2 separate regions of the Homo sapiens genome follow, and region 2 is linked to region 1. Evidence: promoter capture Hi-C in 16 types of primary human blood cells and fetal thymus (Javierre and others, 2016). All regions are on one chromosome and are shown on one strand. The core of a region is centred on a gene start or on the middle of the fragment in contact, and the rest is flanking DNA. Distances in the headings are between cores, read along the strand shown. Region 1 holds the start of TMEFF2 (transmembrane protein with EGF like and two follistatin like domains 2). Region 2 has its middle 770 kb from the start of LINC01821.

The links. The method cuts DNA at HindIII sites, captures the fragments that hold promoters and counts their contacts. A CHiCAGO score of 5 or more calls a contact.
Region 2: a contact is called between a fragment that was not itself captured here and the fragment with the promoter of TMEFF2 in region 1, in 1 of 17 cell types (M2 macrophages). The highest score is 5.4, in M2 macrophages.

What each region holds. Positions count from the first base shown.
Region 1 is chr2:192,192,516-192,198,248 of GRCh38, reverse strand. It overlaps TMEFF2 (transmembrane protein with EGF like and two follistatin like domains 2), which reads left to right and starts at 3,316. Exons shown (of 10, transcript NM_016192.4): 1 at 3,316-3,896. The coding sequence starts at 3,725. RefSeq lists an enhancer at 2,795-3,370. The HindIII fragment of the contact is 4,792 bases long and covers 1-4,241 here.
Region 2 is chr2:193,573,216-193,578,948 of GRCh38, reverse strand. No RefSeq gene overlaps it. Among named protein-coding and RNA genes, the nearest start is that of LINC01821, 770 kb to the left of the region's middle. The HindIII fragment of the contact is 1,964 bases long and covers 1,749-3,712 here.

The sequences.
Region 1 (5,733 bases), core at 2,067-4,566:
ATAAAAATAACATGTTCTATCCTACATGGCACAATGCCTGACACCTAAGAAGCAAAGGATACATCTTACCTTTATTGAAGCAATCAGAAAGTATGAAATCATGAAGGAGATAAGAGTTCTGATTGGCAGTGTATCTTATTTTCCCAGGTTCATTTATTTATCTTAAACTATTCTTGTTGGAGAATAACTCCCAAGCCCCCTACTTAAGCTGTGAGTAATCTCACACTTTATAATGATGTTCTTTCCATGAGAAAAAAAAATGTTCTTAAGTTTTCTGGAGAAAATATATCTGCACTATTTCTACTGAAAAATCTAACAACTGGACTCTGCTCCTCTGCATCAATTCTAGAGTGTATATGCCACAAATAAAGTGTTCTAGCTCAAGAAGATTGAAAGTAAATATGGTATAGTATTTTAAAATAAGAATTTTGCAAATACATGGTATGATTGTGTCATATTACTAGCAATCATATGATACGCAATGCAAAGTACAGTTCATAGACTTAAATTTAATTCTAATAAGTAAACTGATTTTGCCTTGCTGGGGAAAAGTTAAAGCACTAATCCAATTGCTAATGCAGTCTTGTCTACTTCTTTGGTACCTAGTGACAAGTCTAAATAATGTATATATTTTTATTTACATATTCAGTAATACAATTCTCTGCTCAATGAGTGATGTTCTTCTGCCACTTGGTGGTGCTTGCCAGTTTCAGAATTTGTTTCTTGGTGGCACTATAACACTAAGTACAGAGTAAGTGCAACAAAATTGCAGCATTCCCATTGAAAAGGCTTTGCTTCAAACTGTTTAATAATTTAAAGGACCTCTGTGGAAGCAACCGCATTTGTTAACCAGTTACAACCAGTAATTAACTCCTTTGGAGTTTTAACTTACTTTTGGCAAAACGTCTTAGGAAGAGCATATATTATTAGAAAGTATGCCAAAAATTTACTTAGCAGAAAATTCAAAAACAGTTTTCCTCTGCTAAGAGGTTCTCTAAAATTCTACTTACATAGCCAAACTCTGAAATCCTAGCAGGTCCTGTTTCATTATCATAATTACTGCATAAACACTTTTAAGGACTTTGCCTTTAGTTTCAAGCATGACTTATTTTCATAAGCCTGATTAGTTACCACACCAGCCTTGCTATGGAAAATGACATGTTCTCATTCTCTGCTGTAGAGTTGTTAAATCTTGATCTATATTTATGTTGCCTTCTCTGCTGAAAGCCTGTAGCGAAAGAAATTTCTAATTCCTTGTTTTGCAATATTAGTTGGCAGCTCTATCTAATGGGTATTCTGTTTCCTTAAAGAATTTAGCTGCTCTGTCTAGAAGCCGATTTTCTGATGCCTCCAACGTCTGGTCTAATTGATCTGTTTTAATGGAGTCTTCGTCGGTGAGGAGCGAGATGCCACCGACTAGAATGCTGGGATCTGCTGCTTAATTGCCAGGAGTGAGAGACACTGAGATTCAGAAATCTTTGGAGGTGGGAGGGGAGAGGGACAGTCTCGGACGGAGGCGGAGATGTAAGATAAAGGGATGGATTTCACACAGGAAAAAAAAAAAGATTTCGTTGAGGCACTGAGGTGCTGCACGATCACATCTCTCAAAGGAGAAGTTAAAAAGCAAGGAAGTGGGAGGAGGTTGGAGGTTAAAGTACTTAAAAGGATTACTCGGGTACAATTTGTTTTTCTGCTGGTGTCTGCAAAGGATAGATAGTCCCGTTTTCAAAGTATATGAATGCCTCTTTTAAGTGATTGGGAATGGACACTAATTGCCTGTTAAATGTTATCAAATGCTCTCCTAAATTCAGGGGACACAGAAAGAGGGGCACAAAAGGAGAATTTAAATAGAAAAAGGGAGGATCCGGAGGCTTTTGAAAGCGGGGGGAGAAGAAGGAGGAGGGATAACAGAGAGGAATAGAGAAGGAGAGCGGAGAGAAGATAAACAAAAACAAAAACAGGAATCACTGAATAATCACACACCAAAAAGAAAGCTCTTCCCTATGGGGCATCCAAAACACTGAGACTGCAATAGTGACCCCGGTCATGGAAGAAAGATGTTCCTCTCCACCCTTGTCCCCGAAAGCTCTTGGTCCCGTTACTGGCGACTAAAATTCCATTAGGCTAAAGAGTGTGTCTAACTGCCTGAAGAATGCAGCAGACGGAAGGCGGGTCCCGCTATGCCGTTTGCCCTTCCCGCTGGAGAGAATGAAAGAAACGCGCAGAGCCAGAGACTCCTGCCGAGTTAGACCTTCTCTCGTCGCCCCAGGTCACCGGCCATCCGGCAAAGACCCGAGTAAGGAACGCAGGGTCACTGCCTGGGCCAACAAATGGAGCCCGCTCTCCCCTTCCCGGACGCCGCTGCCCGGCCGATGCTCCCGGCAACCCACCCGCGGCGTATGCAGAGGAGCCTTTCTCTTTCTCTCAGACCACTTGTCCCGACCAATCTGACCTTCCAAACACATCTGACCGCACCTCCCAGGTGGACACACTAATAGGCTACGGGCTGGAGAGGAGCGGGTGATGAGGAGAGGGATTCAAACCTGCGAACGCTTGGGCTGGGTCGGAGCTGCGGGGGGCCTGGGAGGAGAGAGGGGAGAAGAGAGAAGGAAGGAGAGCGCCTGCCGGGATGGCTGAGCTGCCTCGGCGAGCAGCCTTGGGGTTGCACGCTCTTGTGGGAGATGCTGCTGTTGCTTCCAGGTCGGCAAGAGCGGTTCTAACACCATCGCCTCTCACCCTCTTTCCTGTAAATCCCTAGAGAAACGTCCCTGGCCTCTCCGCCGCGACATTCCCAGCCTGCATCCCCCTACAGCCTAGGCGGCGCGCTCCCGCACGCTGGAGCGCCGGTCGCCAGCAGGACGCCCTCTCCCGCGCCGACTCGCCCCTCTCTGCCCTGCTGCTGCTGCTCCTCTGACACCTCCGCCCCCACCATCTCCAGCTCGGAGAGACGCCACCCAGCCGCGGCCCGCACTCGCGGCCCGGGGTCACGCGCGGAAGAGGGGCGCTAGTCCGGACCCCGCCTTCGGTAGGGGGCGTCCTGGAGCGGAGAGTGAGGCGAATGGTATATGAGTGTGCGGGTAGCCCACCCTGAAGCCCGAGCTTCTCATTTGAGCCATCCCCGCCTAGCCCCACTCGGGCCAGCGCCTGGCGAGCGAGCCCATCTGTGGCTTCCGCGGCCGCCTCCTCCTTGCATCCTTGCACCTCCTCGTCGACCCCTCCCTCCCGGGACCTGCATCCTGCTCCACCAATCAGAGCCCGACTGCCTCTTCCCACGTGACCCCGGGCGGGCTGAGGACCTGCTGCTTCCCAAACGCCAGAGGGATGCGGGCGGCAGAGCTCGAGAGGCGGCTGCCGGGCTGCGGGGCGCCTTGACTCTCCCTCCACCCTGCCTCCTCGGGCTCCACTCGTCTGCCCCTGGACTCCCGTCTCCTCCTGTCCTCCGGCTTCCCAGAGCTCCCTCCTTATGGCAGCAGCTTCCCGCGTCTCCGGCGCAGCTTCTCAGCGGACGACCCTCTCGCTCCGGGGCTGAGCCCAGTCCCTGGATGTTGCTGAAACTCTCGAGATCATGCGCGGGTTTGGCTGCTGCTTCCCCGCCGGGTGCCACTGCCACCGCCGCCGCCTCTGCTGCCGCCGTCCGCGGGATGCTCAGTAGCCCGCTGCCCGGCCCCCGCGATCCTGTGTTCCTCGGAAGCCGTTTGCTGCTGCAGAGTTGCACGAACTAGTCATGGTGCTGTGGGAGTCCCCGCGGCAGTGCAGCAGCTGGACACTTTGCGAGGGCTTTTGCTGGCTGCTGCTGCTGCCCGTCATGCTACTCATCGTAGCCCGCCCGGTGAAGCTCGCTGCTTTCCCTACCTCCTTAAGTGACTGCCAAACGCCCACCGGCTGGAATTGCTCTGGTAAGTCCAGAACCCCCGTCCCCGACCCTTTAACTCCGCAGAAGAACACGCGTATCCAGCACAGACCAGCCTACCCTAGCGCGCCTCCTCAGCCCCTCACCTCCTACTGCCCTAGACCCCTAATACCACCCACCTCTATCCAGAGAAACAAGGGGAACTGTTGCAGGCCCGGGGGTGAGGGGTGGTTCTGGGATGGGCAGAAAGTGCAGGTGTAGCAGGAAACCTTTGCATGCTTGCGCTTACATTGGAGCTGCGAGGATTTTGAGAAATATTAAACGGGATGGTTTTCTGGGTTCACTGTTTTGAAAGAGCACCAATCCTAGGGGAAACACTGAAACAGAAGCTTTGTCATCATTAAAGAAAAAAGTCTTACTAGGATGAGGAAGAAATAACTTTATGAGAAAGAATGAGCGAGAAAGCAATAAATCAAATGGTGACTGCAGGGGAATCGCTGATTCCTGGCAAAGGTGCCATGAGGTCGCACTGGTCTCCCGTTGAAGACCAGGTCACACAGATTCTAGAGGAGCTGGGTTTCAATAGAATTTCTCTCTCTCTCTCTCTCTCTCTCTCTCTCTCTCTCTCTCTCTCTCTATCTATCTATCTCTCTCTCTCTCTCATTCCCTTCTCTCCTAGGCGGCAAAAGACATTGGTTTTGCAGTCCAGATATGCCCCTCTCTTTGCTTCCCTAAGCTTCAAGGTAGTACAGGGGAGTTGAGAAAAAGAACACTTTGCGGGTCTCCCAGGCCGGAGTGGGCATGACTGAGGCTGGTCAGGCTCCATGTAGGCGAGCCGAGGGCGGAACCGACTTCAGTGGGCGCTGACTCCTCCATTTCTGGACAGGCTTCTGTGGAGTGGGTCAGGCACTCTTCTTGCTCGCTCGGGTTCCTTCAGATTCTGACGGCGAACGCTTGGCAGGCTTCGCTCTGCTGAAGCTTCCTAATTAAATAGGGCCAGAGGATGGGAGTTGCTGCACTCCTAGCTGGCATAGCATTTCGGTTTGACAGCCTGTAGTATACTGGGCAGAATTGTGGTGTAATTTCCTTGGCATTTTAAACTCCGTTAACATGCCTGGGTATTGTCCCCTAGGTGTGGTCTGTTCTAGTTTTAGCAAGTGTGTATGTAATTTTTCATCTTCTGTGAATATAATTTTGCTGTAGTTAAATCTGGCTCTGAATAAAGTGTCTTTCAAAGATGTATATAAGCTGAAGTGTATGTAACTTTAGAGAGGAGGGAATGACCAACTGTAACTCAGGGTGAAAGCCTGTATAGTTCCTAGTTATTACTGATGTAAATGCCAAAAGGAAAATTATTATGCATCATTCTAATTTATCCTTTACAAAGACAAGTTGAGATATGCAACCCTATTAGATTTGGGTCAATAGATTGTTCTCTTTTTTGGCAGTTTCTAAATTTGGCATTTTAATAAAACTCAACATGTTTCTATAACTTCTTGATTCATGCGTACATGTGTGTTGTTTTTGAAAGAATAAGTTTCACTTTGCTATTGCCTAATCACTTTTTAGATGCTTTATTATGGTAATAATTATGAGCCTGCAAAAACAATTTTTGGAAATGTTGATGGCTTTGTAGTCCAACACAGACTGGTTTGCTTCATTCCTAGCCCTTGCATTGTTTTAGGAAATAACTAACTTAAATGTGAAGTTGACATTTGCAATCAAGAAATTACATATTTACCAGATATTTTAAAGGGGACTGCATAAACTAAAGAGAATAAACTGGTTTTGCAGATAGGTTGTCAAGAACTTGGCACCCCGCTTCCACCCCTGTTAACTTAGAGGTGATCAATCTTCATTTGAGCCAAACAGACCATCACAGA
Region 2 (5,733 bases), core at 1,481-3,980, 1.4 Mb before region 1:
CCAATGAACACAAGATATCTTTTCATTTACATGTGTCTGCTTTAAACTCTTTCTTTGTTTTATGGTATTCAGTGTACAAGCCTTTCTCCCCATTGGTTAACTTTATTCCTGAGTATTTTCTTCTTTTTGATGCTATTGTAAATGGGATTATTGTCTTGATTTCTTTTCCAGACAGTTTCTTGTTAGTGTATAGAAATACAACTGATTGTGTAGCCTACATTTTACTAAATTCATTAGTTTTAACAATGTGAGGTGGCACTTTAGGGTTTTCTACATGTAATATTATGTCATTTATGAATATAGATAATTTTACATCTCCCTTTGTAATTTGAATGCCTTTTATTTCTTTTTCTTGCCTAATTTCTTTGGCTAGGACTTTTAGTGCCATGTTAAATAGAAGTAGCAAGCATAAACAACCTTGCCTAATTCCAGGTCTTACAGAAAAAGTTTTTAATTTTTCACCATTGCCTATAATGTGAACTGTGGGCATTTCATATATGACCTTTATTGTGTTGTAAGTTTTTTCTATACCTAATTTATTGAAAGTTTTTAATCACAACATTGTCTTAAATTTTTTCTAACATTTTTTCTCTCTGTTGAGACGATTGTGTGATTTTAATCCTTCTTTCTGTTAATGTAGTGTAGTTATTAATTGATTTGTGTATATTAAACAGCCCTTGCGTTGGAGGGGTAAATCCTACTTGGCCATGATGTATGGTCTTTTTATTGTGCTATTGGATTCAGTTTGCTAATATTTTGTTGAGGATTTTTGCATCTATATTCATCAGGAGTATTTGCCTGTACTTTTATTTTGTTGTGTCGTCTTTGCTTTGTGTTGTTATTAGGGTGATGCTTGCCTAATAAAATGAGTTTGGATATATTCCATCTTCTTCTATTTGAGGGAAGAGTATACAAAGGTTTGGCATTAATTATACTTTCAGTATTTTTTAGAATTCACCTGTGAAGTCATCTTGCCCTGGGCTATTCTTTTTTGAGAGGTTTTGAATTACTGACTTTTTTTTTTATTATTATTCGTCTGTTCAGGCTTTCTATTTCTTCTTGATTCACGCTTGACAGGTTTTATGGTTCTAGGAATTTGTTCATTTATTCTAGGTTGTCCCATTTGCTAATAAGTAATTTTCATGGTAGTTTCTTATCTTTTTATTCCTGTGGCATCTTTATTATGACTACTCTTATGTTTCTGCTTTTATTTCAGCCTTCTCTCTTTTTTTTTCTCCCACTGGTTAAGGGGTTTTCAATCACATCTTTCAGAGAACCAACTCTTTGTTTTACTGGGGTTTTTTCCTATTGTTTTTGTATTCTCCATTTTGTTTATTTCTGTTCTGGTCTTTATTATTTCCTTCCTTTTGTTAATTTTGCTTGTAACTTGTTCTTTTTTTAGTTTCTTATAGTTGTTTATTTCAGATCTTTCTTAAATGTAGACATTTATTACTATAAACTTCCCTCTTAGTACTGTTTTTGCTGAAGCTCTTCTGTGCTTTTATAAAAGGAAGAAACACCCTCAATATATCAAGAGGTGAAAAAATGTACTACTTCTGCTGGCAAGGAAGTTTTAGTGGGATTAAGTTCTCATTACTTAGAGTCACCCAAATTCTCTCAAGGTTTCCACATTCTTCTAAAGAAAGTTATATATTTCTCTTGGCAAGGATGTAAATTTTAAACCCAATTTTCATTAATCAGAGCTGCTGCAATATATATATATGGCACTTAAAAAAATAAAAGAAGCTTCTTGATTCTCTGACAAAGCCTTGCATTGGTCTTTTCAAATCTTTAAATTTTCATTTTATCATCTTTCCTAATTAGAAGGAATCAGCCCTTTCCATAGTCTTGAATTTCCTATGGCCCTTAAACTGTCAAATAATAGTATCCTGTATGTCTAGAGAAGGTTTACAACTTTCCACCCATCTTCTTTGGCGACATAAAAAAAAAAAAAAATCTTTACCAAATCTTCTCAACTTCTAACTAGAATTGCACAGTCCTCAAGCCCATTCAAGTCAGAAACCATCACTTCTTTATTTGTATCGTACTAGGCCTCTAATGTCTTCATTGCTCCCTGCTATCTTAGCTGGACAACATAGAATACATTCTTGCTAGTTTAAGAAAATAATAATTTACTAAAATATATAGACAAGAGAATAAGACTTGGATTATGTGTGGCAGAAAATGGCCAGAAGAAACACTGGTGCCATTGTTATAAAACTTGTTTTGCAACCACCTGGAAGTAGTCACCTCTGATAAGTCATTATGGTATATAAGTCATTATTAACTTTATTTCACTGACAGCTAAATGAATGGAAATTTTTTTCTTATTTCAGGACACAGAGATCCATTTAAAACATTCATTTTGAAATATAATGTACTGTATAATTCTGTATAAAATATCTATCAGAGGTTTCAGAAGAGAAAGAGCCAAAAGACCAAAACTTCTTCACCAACCCGTTTGATCATATTTCTTTCTTCTGCCTGCAAGTTTTATGTGAGTACATCTACCTGAAGAATCTTAGCTTCAAAGGAGTTGAGAAAGTGTTATTTTGTTTATTTGTTTGTTTCTAATTTTATAGCCTCTTGAATGTATAAAAGAAAACTAGGAGGTTAGAATGAAGACTTAAAGAATATTAAATATCCCCAGGTTTCTCACTTTAGATACGGCTGTGACTTATAAGCCTCCTTGTATGACTTGAATGCAAATAATCTGTCTTGGGGATAAAATATATGATGAGGAAGTATATGATTAATGACCTAACATTTCAGTTTATCAGATAAAGCACTTTTCCCCTCAGTTTGCCTCCAGATAGTATTTGGTATTCATTTTCTAACACAGTTGGAACTAAATTATACCAAAATTCAAAAATGTACAAATCTAAAATAGTATGAAAAATGTATGATCAATTGTGCAGCCCAAGAAAACTCTTGAAAAGATAAACTAATTCTGAAATGAATGATGCATTTTATACATAATTATACAGTGCATTTTATTTCAAAATAAATGTTTAAAACAGTTCCCTATGTCCTAAAATAAGAAAAAAAATCACCCATTCATTCAGCTGTCAGCAAAATAGAGTTAATAATGACATATATCAGAATTACATACATTGTTTAGGGCAATGATTTCCTGGCAGGAAATTAATAATGAGCTAATTTAAGAAAGTATTGCAAATGATTTAAAGACTTTGTCAGCATTGTCTATGGTACTCTTGTCATTTTGCTTATGATTTTTTGTATTTTTGTACTAGGACACCAAATGGGATTGTTACTGACTCAATATCAGATGTCTCATGTTATGATCCCCAACATCTATGAGTTGTCAGATGACTTGGGAAGGGATGAGAAAAGAGGTGGTGAAAAATTAATTGTCAATTATTTAGGTTATCTCCTTTGAGTGTATAAAGGCAGTAGTTTTGAAAAATCAGATGGGGAGGATTTTTTTTGGAAGACATTGCTAGTACAGTGTGAGTCTGACCCTTTTCATAGCAGTCATAATAGAGGATGATGCTTCAATCTTGTTTTTAACACAGTAAGAAAAGGTTCAGAAGATCATAAAGGGATCTTGGACTGTTTTCTTTGACATCTTAGGGGAAAGGGAGCACAATGGCTGGTTCCATACTCATGGCTGAGAAGCCTGAAAGCCTGCGAAGATGATTGGCTAACCATCTGATTGACTGAGGGGAGATGGCTATCTAGGAAACAAGCTTCACTTCAGAGATTTCTGGGCAAATAATGTCAGAATATATTCCCTTTAGATCTATGTAGCAAAGAGAATTTACCTGGAGCTATTTTAAAGGGACTTTGTCTAAGACAGTTAGCTGATGAAGCACCAGAAGAGAACATCTGTGTTGGGTCTATTGTTGCAAACCAGAAATTGAGAACAAAGAGCTAAGACCCCAGATGGAGAATAGAAGTGTTAAGAAATCTACAGACGAATTATCTATGTTAAGGGAGAGTCTCCAAAAACCTCACGAATTCAACCCTAGTAGAATTGAGCTCCAAACATCTTCATTGTCTATTAAAAAAGCAGAAACATATTAATGTCAATAAAATAAATCATTTCCTGATTTATCTCCTTTCTGTTCCTCCACACTTCAACCATGGGAGAAAAAGAAAATGAGGCTGAAGTACTAGGAGTGAGCTGAGGCCTAGAAGAAAAGCAACACTGGTGTGCAGAAGAAAAGTGATCATGCTTCTTCACCCTACTACAGACTTCTGTATGAGAAGCAGCCTATGCTGAGGGAAATGAGAAGCTTGAATTTTTAATGAAGTCTGGAAATGCGACTATACATCAGACTTTTTTCTATATCACAAATAAGCAAACAAATGCACATTTTTCCATTATTTGTATAATAAAAACTCATGGTAAAATAAGTAAAATGACTAAATATATGGTAGAAATTGAGGTTAATAACTAAATATATGGTAGAAATTGAGGTTTATCAGAGTATTGGAGCTCAAAATTAAACAATCTCTTTTACTCCACGGTATTTTTATATGTGAATATTATCTTAAAAAGATTGTATTTTTGTCAATAAAGATGTTTTGGAAAGTTTTACACCAGAAATCTTGAGAAACATGAAAACATGCCTGTATTCTCTTTATGCTGTAAGGAGAATCAAGAAGAAAAACTGAATTATACTGCCAGTTATTTTAACTATAATTGTAGCAAAATTCTGTGTTTATATTAACTACTTAACAATAAATTCCCTCAGCTAAACCAAGTACCCTATTTATAAACTGCTACAACAGTATATCATTTTACTTTGAGACACATATTACAACTATAATAAAATAATTATGAAGTTACATTTAATATCTCCCTCCCTTGTGGCTCTATAAGGCTCATTTTCAAATATCATTAAAAAATAAAAAATGTATGTACTTTACAATGGTTGAAGGCATCATTGCATGTATTATCTCATTCATTCTTCATTATAAACTTGAGGGAGTTTTTTAAAAAAACTATATTTAAAGAAAACTAAAAATTACTCCATTTAACAGGTTGGCTCAGTAGTACATAGTCATTGAATCCTATGCCTATAATGGGTTTTCTAAATGTATTTCATATTCATCCTCTCCTATGTAATTTCATTGTTATAATTCTGGCTTATATATTCATATCTTGTTTACCAAATTTAGATTTACGGTAAGATCCCTGGTGCTTCTATAACCTATTTTTAAATACACCTTTACAGGGGATTTCTTTTTAAAAGTTCAGGATTTTTGCGTGTGTGTTACCATGGGTAAATGTGAAAAAGAGAGAAAGTTTACAATAACTTGATATATTTTGGTATTTTGCTATTTTTTAAGCAAAATAACCTTGTACTTCTCAGCAATTGCTTCACATACAAATGAACCTGTTTCTTTAATTGCTGCATTTTACTAAAGGATATTTCCTTTAGTGTTCTTCAACGTTCAACTGCCAAACTGCTAACCTTACACAAATTACTCCATAAGTTACATGTAAAAATACTTTATGTAGAAAATGTCCTTCCTGTTGGTCTAGTACAAGGATGAATGTCACAAGTGCAAACACAAGACAAGCAATATTTTCCTCAAAGTAAAAATGCTCACTTTTGGTCAGCTTTTGTTTCTGTTACCAATGTGGATCATTTCTGGTCTGGTGTAATCATGTTATTTGTTATGAACTGAATGCTTGTGACTTTCCCAGATTCACATTTTGATATCCTAAACCCCATGTGTTGGTATTAGGAGTTGTAGCCT